2 separate regions of the Homo sapiens genome follow, and region 2 is linked to region 1. The links are contacts of gene promoters, found by promoter capture Hi-C in blood cells and fetal thymus (Javierre and others, 2016). All regions are on one chromosome and are shown on one strand. The core of a region is centred on a gene start or on the middle of the fragment in contact, and the rest is flanking DNA. Distances in the headings are between cores, read along the strand shown. Region 1 holds the start of GABARAPL2 (GABA type A receptor associated protein like 2). Region 2 has its middle 4.6 kb from the start of CHST6.

Region 1 (4,293 bases), core at 110-2,609:
TACAGGCTTTACAGGTGCATCAGAATCACAAGCACGTGGCAGGGTTCATGTGCCCAATTAAGTGAATATTCCTGCTACATGTTCAGCAGCTTATAAACAGATGGTGACCCAGACCAGACTGCCTTGATGAGTCTGCTTGGAAAAAAGGCATTACATCACTGATTGGAGAACCTCAAAGCATATGTCCGGGCAGGTGACACACACACAGCTCAGGCTGTGATTGCTAAACCACTCCCACAGCCAAATAAGGAAACCCATCTCATGACCAGCTCTCAGGGGAATTCTCCGAGTCTGACAGTCACCTCTAACTCCTCTGCCAGTTAAAATTAAGGGGTCTGTGATCAGTGATGTTACACTCCTCAAATGTGCATTTTTTTTTGAGGCGGAGTCTTGCTCTGTTGCCCAGGCTGGAGTGCAGTGGTGTGATCTCGGCTCACTGCCACCTCCACCTCCCTGGTTCAAACGATTCTCCTGCCTCAGCCTCCCGAGGAGCTGGGACTACAGGCGCCCACTACCATGCCTGGCTAATTTTTGTATTTTTAGTAGAGACGGGGTTTCACCATGTTGGCCAGGCTGGTCTTCAACTCCTGACCTCAGGTGATCCACCCGCGTCGGCCTCCCAAAGTGTTGGGATTACAGGCGTGAGCCACCGTACCCCGCCTCAAATGTGCATTTGTGATACCTTTTCGTAAATGTTTATTCAAATATTTATTCACGAATAAAGGAAGAAAACGGGATTTGTTTAAATTCAATTTCTAGGTCCAAGACAACCTACTACGGCTGTCCCTAATACGGACCTCCGGGTTGTCCTCAGTGCCGCTTCCAACAGTGTCCTCAAACACCCTCCCCTCCCATAATGAGCCCCCAACCTGTCACCACTCCGAGCAATACTCCCCAAACTGTCAACGCCCTAAACAGCTCCCTTGTTATCGCCAAGCTCTAGAAAGCCCTCCTTATGTCATTCTTACCCCTAAAGACCGTTCTTGTCACCAATTCCCCAGACTTCCCCTATGAACCGCTCTAAGAGCCCTCAGCTATCAGCCACACCCCCAAACAGCCCTCAGTAAGAGCCCTACACTATCAGCCAGACGTTTTCCGCCACCAACGCTCCCGAGACCCCACTCCTGTCACCAGTTCCCCGAACATTCCTGCGAGCAATGTCGCAGATACTGCTCACAGACGTCCCCATAACCAACTTCTTCGCCACCGCAGCCCAGGAGCCCCCAAAGGGGTCCTCCGCGGCCCCGCCCCTTTACGTGCGGCCCCGCCCCTTGGCGTGGCGCCCTGACAAATGGCGCCGGAAGCCCCGCCCCCGGCCGGTTGCTAGGCTCCGACAGCCGGAAGTCCCGCCTGCCGTGTAGTCGCCGCCGTCGCTGCCGCTGCCGCTGCCGCCGTCGTTGTTGTTGTGCTCGGTGCGCTGAGCTCCGCGGCTCCGCGAGCCGGTTCCGTCCCCTTCCCGCCGCCGCCATGAAGTGGATGTTCAAGGAGGACCACTCGCTGGGTAAGCACTTGGTCGTCGGCCCGGCTGCTGGGGGCTGGGGCGGCGGGTGGGCCCCCTCCCCCACTCGGGCGGCCCTGGGCCGAGTGGAGCGGGGCGGATGCCCTGCTGCGGGCTGGAGTCGCCCATGCCCTGGTGCCTCGGGCAGCGGCCCCCTGACCCCATGTCACCCTCCGCGGGCCTTGCTGGGAGCTAGTAGGGGACAGGACCGCGGCCCCGGGGACGCCGGAACCAGGGCCTGGGTTGTACGCAGGGCGCAGGAGGAGGAGGGCCGGGGGCCGGGAACCGACCGGTGGGCAGGCGCGGCCGTCAGCCCCGTTTGTTTCTCCCACAGAACACAGATGCGTGGAGTCCGCGAAGATTCGAGCGAAATATCCCGACAGGGTTCCGGTGAGTGGACTCTCCGCCCCCTCACCTCGCTGTCACCTCTGTCGTCTGGGACCCGTGATAGGCCCCAGGCCATTCAACAGTTGACAAGTTGAGGTTCCAGTCCCAGTTACAGTAGCTGACGGGCCAGACCGGGATGAGGCCGCCCAGGGCCGGGGCGTGAGGGGCTCGGGCTGGTGCTGTTCAGGGTGCCTCAGTGCTGAATCTCCCGATCTAGGCCAGCGAGCCGTCTGCAGCCTCGGGGCTCCCTGGCCAATTATGTAAGGAACGATGTTCTAGGACAGGGCAACAGGTCACTGCCACTTTTGGGAATGGTGGTGGAGGGAGACTGTCATTTTGGTCTTGGAAGTGGTACTTGAGTCTCAGGACGTTCATCTTTTACTTTGTCTCCATCTTTACCTAACTTCTAGCTCCGTTATCTCACCTTGACCCTGTCATCCTTGCCTGACCAAAATAATGTGAAAAGCCGCTGAAAACCCCTTCTGCCATATTTTCTTCTTAGTCAATAATAAATATAATGTTATATTTCTTCCATGGTTGGGGAGATAGTTTTGTAATCGTTATTAATTTTTAATGGACATTAAGGCCTGTTATTGTAGCTCTTTGCTTGTGAATAATTTGTCTGGGGAAAGGAGTAGGAGGGACGGATTTGAAACTTGTTCAGAGAGGAGCAACAGGCCAAATGAAGAACTTGGTTCTTGGCTGGCTAAAATTCCAGGCATTCCAATTAGTCCATCCATTCTTGTCTCCTGTGTTCCTTGGGAACACAGTAGTGTTTCCTGTAGTGTGAAGGTGGATCCATTCTGGGGTCCTGGAGTAACGGGCCATGGATGAAACCCTCCCCAGATATTCTTAGGTCTGCCCAGATAAAATGTGGAAAAGCTTAGTGGTAAGGGCTGCATTTCTCTTACATAATTGACCACAGAAAAGCACTTACTGTTTCCCTGTAACACATTTATATCAATTCTTAACCTCCAGAGCGTGTGGTTTATTAAGCCAAAGACATATTTTCTCCTGCTATGCAGTTCCCCACCCACCTCCTTGCCCACACTCTGTTCATCAGCTCCTCAGCCATGTGAGGCCAGAGCCTCGCTTTAGGAAACACAGTCCTGACCTCTCTTTACTTTCCCAGGTGATTGTGGAAAAGGTCTCAGGCTCTCAGATTGTTGACATTGACAAACGGAAGTACTTGGTTCCATCTGATATCACTGTGGCTCAGTTCATGTGGATCATCAGGAAAAGGATCCAGCTTCCTTCTGAAAAGGCGATCTTCCTGTTTGTGGATAAGACAGTCCCACAGTCCAGGTGAGAGGTGTTTACTAGATGGGCCCTCTGGTATTAGACATCTGGTTGGCTGCTTACGGAACTCCAAAACTTTGGAAGTCTGAAAACTCTTAGGGGTCCTGACTAGAAATCTGGATTTTATGCTCCCTGACATCAGGGGCTCCAGGAAAATAATGGCTGCAATACATAAGAGTGCATTTTGGATTCAGAAAATAGAACAAGGCCTGGACTTTTAAAAAAATGATGAAACTCAGCCTAAGATCTCCAAGAATCTTTTAAAACGGTTGAGAACTTATTTAGTCTTAAGCTATAGGTAGAACTGAGGCCTGAAATGAGGTTTTCTTCCCTGAAGGCAGTCCTGGCATGCTCCTCCACTGGGAGCCTGTGGGCCCTGCTGAGGCTCACTCAGTTAATCATCCAGTTTGCTTGCTCCCAAACTTGGTCAACTCTTTGACATTGTAAGAGTCTATAGCTGCCTGATCCTCAAGTCTGACAAAATGACTGCGGCACAGTAAAGGGCTCTGAAGTCTCTTTACAGACTTATACCTCCCTTGGTAGCACTTGCTTTGACTGTCAGACTATTGTGCTGCCTGGAAGCAATCTTTGGGACTGTAACTTGTGGCCTGAATGTAGGCAGAGGCATTAGAATTCCCGTTTTCTGTGTGTTTGACAGCCCAGCTTTAGTCCCCTGTGGAAAAAGGAAAGTGGATGGGCTCCGTCTAACCTCCTGGTCAGTCCTTTCCCGTTACTGAGTGGGTAGTTGTAGGCCCTGATCCAGATTCCAGCCCCCACCTCTCCCCTGAGTGTGAGTTTCTGGCCACATCTTATCTTTGTGACCCAATCTAGGTTTCATTTACCACTCCCAGAAGTAATACTTCTAAAAGTGAAGGCTCTCAGAAGCCCTGGGAACTAGCCCAATGTTGTCCAAATAGGTTCCTGTTGAAAATCCTTGAAGACTCCAGAAGAGGCCTGTGCCAAATTCCAGACCTTATTTCTGTTAAAGGTGGAAAGCTCTGGCCATTTTTTGGTCTGATTTCCTCTTTCCCAGTGTCCTCCACCTCTACTTCCTGGTGTCTGATAGAAAGGCAGGGGAGAAATGGAAGCTCCTTCCCTAAGGCCAGTAT
Region 2 (4,199 bases), core at 1,403-3,902, 66 kb before region 1:
TACAGAACATAATGGATTCTTTATACAAGTTTTGCATTCAAATAATTTAATAAAATGCAAACCAAAGTTTATACGTATCTTTAGCCATCTTCCCATGTTTCATTAAATTCTGGGGATTTAAACCACAAGCAATTTTTCATTTCAGTCTCAAGAGACGGGGCACACTGGCCCATGCCTATATTCCTGGCACTTTGTGGGGCTGAGACAGGAGGATTTCCTGAGGTTGGGAGTTCAAGACCAGCCTGGGCAACATAGTGAAAACCCCATCTATAAAAATAAATAAATCTCAAGAAAAAAATTTAGGCATCTAAAATAGCCAGAATATTAAAAAAAGACAAGGGGGACAGTGTTAGAGAATTCCTCTGCTTGAATACTTCAAAATAGCTTTGTTTCCAAAACTGTTTTTAGTCAGCCTAAAGGAAACGGATGCTGGAGATGAAAAATGATCTCCAAGGTAAACTGAGGCACACACTGAGGGGTGTGTTTCTGGGTGGGCATGAAGCATGGATCACCGGAGCCATGTCCTTCCAGGGGCAACGACCTGCTTGGGATCAGGAAGCAGCTCCATGTGTTCTTGGAGGAGACTGCACGCATCCTCAGGAGGTGAATCGGCTGAACAAGCCATCTTCCGTGTGCAGAGGCCCCTTCCAGCCATCTCTGCTCCTGCAGACACTTGCTTAGCCACGAGGATAATCCACTGGACTGCTTGGTATTCTGCTAGTGGCCAGGCTGGACTGGCCTGCCCAGGCCAGCATCCTCTTTACACCCTCACTGCTTCTTGTGTCCTTCCCAAAGCTGCCCGCCCCACTCTGATGGGCACCCTTTTCCTTAGTCAAGGGAAACGCCAGCCGCTGGGCTTCCCGCTAGCCTTCCAAATAAACTTGTGGTTGTCAGGCAGCGGGAGCCAATCCCAACACCAACCCCTGTCGCCCCTGTCCTTTGCAGGAAGGGGGAGGGCTGTCAAGGAGGAGGAGGGCCAAGTGCCCAGGCTGTTGGGTGAGGGCCAGAAAGAACCTGTTGTGACAATGCTTTCTTCCCCCAGTGCTGCTGAGGGGGCTGAGAATGAAACAGCCCCTCTGACTTCAGCCTGCCATCCAGGGGCACAGACAGAGGGAAAAACCGGGCAAAGAGCCAGCCACAGTCGGGCAGGGATCCAGGGCTGCTCAGCTGAGCTGATGACAGATGACTGACTGTTGGGCTGGGGCAGGTGGACGGTCCAAGTGTCCTTCAGCGGCCCTCCCTGATTGCCTGTGCTAATGCGGCCCTTGCCCTTGGGCCCTGCCCCTCCAGGTCTCCAGTTAAAGGCCTCAGCTCTGGAAATCAAAGCTGTGAATGGGAAATGGAGAAGCCCAGGGGTGCAAAGTGCTAGTGATTGGCATGTTTGTCACAAGAGAGCCCTGAAAAGAGTAAGAGTGGCTCACAACAGAAGGAAGAAATGCACAGTGTGTTCCTCAGTTCAACAGAGGAAAAGTCTCTGCTTGACCAGAGATGGGACTCTTTCCAAGATGTCTGAACTGACTGCAATTTTCTCCTGAAATTCAACGCTAAGGCAAAGAAGAAAAACCCAAAAAGCTAATTATAGCCTCCAGGAACTCTCAGACCTTTCCACAAACTAGTCCCTGACAATTCTGCAGGAGCTCTGAAGATACGGAACTGTGTAGAGCAAAACTGGAAAGAACCGTTGTCTCTGAGGGAAAAGCACACAAGCCCGCAGGTGTCCGCTGGGCTCTTTCAAAAGGTCCTAAGACGTTCCCAGAAGATGACAATGAGGCAGCCATGGTCCTGCTGAGTCTTCAGAAACGGCCTTTCTAGGATAAGTGCTCCTTACACACTTCTCCCTGGGGCATCACTGTCACAGGGATGGTGGTCACCACCTGATTCTGAAACACGAAGATCTTGATTCTTTCAAACACCCAGAGGAAGATAAGCAGGATGCTGACATACTGCACCCAGGCGAACTTTACCATCGCCCAGAATCCTGGCTGATAAGGACAGACAGTTAAAGAGTTGGGGACCACATGGTATAAGTCAAAGTAAACTAAGGTTTAGGCCAGACAGGATATGGCAAGAATATTTCAAATACTCTTAAGATGAAAGGAATAATAAAAGATTATTAAAAAATAAATATGGATGATTCTGACTTAGAAGAATGGCTCAGAAAGAAATACGAACAGGAAATGATCTTCCCCCCTGTATAAAGAGCAGACATAGTCATTTATGTGGAGATACAGTGCTGTAGCAATTTCCAATCAAAGGCTCCCACATGTGTTTCTGCTGGGGACAACTTTGGAATCTTTCCTTTTTGGAAGTTGAGTTACCACTGCCTCTGTAACAGAAAGGATATGATATGGTTTCCACAGGGTACTGGATGACAACATTAATCACAAATGGAGTTTCATGGCTCTGCCTACCAGCCAGATGAAGTTGGGGTCATTCAGGATGGTGGCAACTGCAATACAATCATTAACCATTAATCCATGATGGGGCAGCCTATTGGCAAAATATATTAGGGCTATAAAAATATTATTATTGTTTTTGGGATGGAGTTTCGCTCTTGTTGCCCAGGCTGGAGTGCAATGGAGTGATCTTGGCTCACTGCAACCTCTGCCTCCCGGGTTCAAGCAATTGTCCTGCCTCAGCTTCCTAAGTAGCTGGGATTACAGGCAGGTGCCACCATGCCCAGCTAAATTTGTATTTTTAGTAGAGATGGGGTTTCTCCATGTTGGTCAGGCTGGTCTTGAACTCCCGACCTCAGGTGATCTGCTTGCCTCAGCCTCCCAAAGTGCTGGGATTATAGGCATGAGCCACCACGCTCGGCTATAAAAGTATTATTTTATTCCTGTGGGATATTCTGTACTTCAGAACTAAAAGAAATCATTCGAAAGCATTAAAAATTGCATGTACAAAGTAGATTAACAAATAATTTGTTAAGATACTTGTCAAAAAAGCATTTGATATGGTTTGGCTCTATGACCCAAATCTCACCTTGAATTGTAACAATCCCCACGGATCAAGGGCAGGACCAGGTGGAGATAATTGAATCATGGGGGCAGTTTCCCCATGCCATTCTCATGATAGTGAGTTCTCACCAGATCTGATGGTTTTATCAGATCTGCTTACTTAGCTCTGCTCTCATTCTCTCTTCTGCCGCCCTGTGAAGAGGTGCCTTCTGCCATGATTGTGAGGCCTACCCAGCCATGCAGAACTCTAAGTCAGTTAAACCTCTTTTCTTTATAAATTACCCAGTCTCAGGTATGTCTTTACAGCTGTGTGAGAAAGGACTAATACGATATTTATATTAAAATACGTCAAAAACTTGGAAATGGTCATGTGATCATCTACAATTGCTGAATGGCTAACTGAAAGAATAACATGTTGCCACTCTAAATAATATGTTTGTCTGGACAAAGTCGCGCATTCTTGTAATCCCAAGGATCTGGGAGGCCAAGGTGGGAGGGTCACTTGAGGCCAGGAGTTTGAGAGCAGCTTGGCTAACATATTGAGACCCTCTCTCTACTAAAAAATAAAAAAAAATTAGCTGGGCATGGTGGCACGTGCCTGTAGTCCTAGCGGCCCAGGAGGCTGAGGTGAGAGGATCACGGAGCCCACAGGAGTTCAAGGTTACAATCAGCTATGATTACAGCACTGCACTCCAGCCTGATCATCAGAGCAAGACCCTGTGTCTCTTCAAGAAAAAAAAAAATTAGAACTTTGTAGCAGTGTGGGGAAATACTTTTATTACATGGAAATACAAATAATTTGGATGCCAAAGTGTTTCAACACTATCATAATAGGTATATTTTTAAAATCCACATAAGAATAAAGAGTGAAAAAAGTAAAGAAAAAACATCGATTTCTTGGGCCGTGCTTTTTAGTTTTGTTTTAGAATTCCCTTTACTATTATAAAAATGCTGCTAATGTATGACATAAAATCAGAAAGCAATACTGGATTTGCAGTCGTTCCCCCTTGTGAAATGTTTGTGTATAGTCTCCATGATGTCTGGTTGCCAAGTAACACTCTAGATGCCTTCACAGACATCCTCAGCCACGGACCAGCCAAACATGCCGAGTGAACACATGCCATGGCCTAGAGCTCTGTAAGGAATGAGCACACTGTGCCTTCTGGCAGGAAACAGGGGCACTCCTGTTCTCCTGCTGGACTGCTAATGTGGGGAGAGTCACCCACGTTCTCTGTTTTT

Evidence for each region. Contacts are between HindIII fragments. The CHiCAGO score rates a contact against its expected background, and 5 or more counts as called.
Region 2: a fragment that was not itself captured here is called in contact with the fragment with the promoter of GABARAPL2 in region 1 in 1 of 17 cell types (naive B cells); the score reaches 5.5 in naive B cells.

The regions. Positions count from the first base shown.
Region 1 is chr16:75,565,020-75,569,312 of GRCh38, forward strand. It overlaps GABARAPL2 (GABA type A receptor associated protein like 2), which reads left to right and starts at 1,360. Exons shown (of 4, transcript NM_007285.7): 1 at 1,360-1,501; 2 at 1,833-1,888; 3 at 3,018-3,190. The coding sequence starts at 1,468. RefSeq lists a silencer at 1,423-1,832 and an enhancer at 1,822-2,575. The HindIII fragment of the contact is 5,212 bases long and covers 1-2,765 here.
Region 2 is chr16:75,497,977-75,502,175 of GRCh38, forward strand. It overlaps the pseudogene TMEM231P1. Among named protein-coding and RNA genes, the nearest start is that of CHST6, 4.6 kb to the left of the region's middle. The HindIII fragment of the contact is 6,365 bases long and covers 1-4,199 here.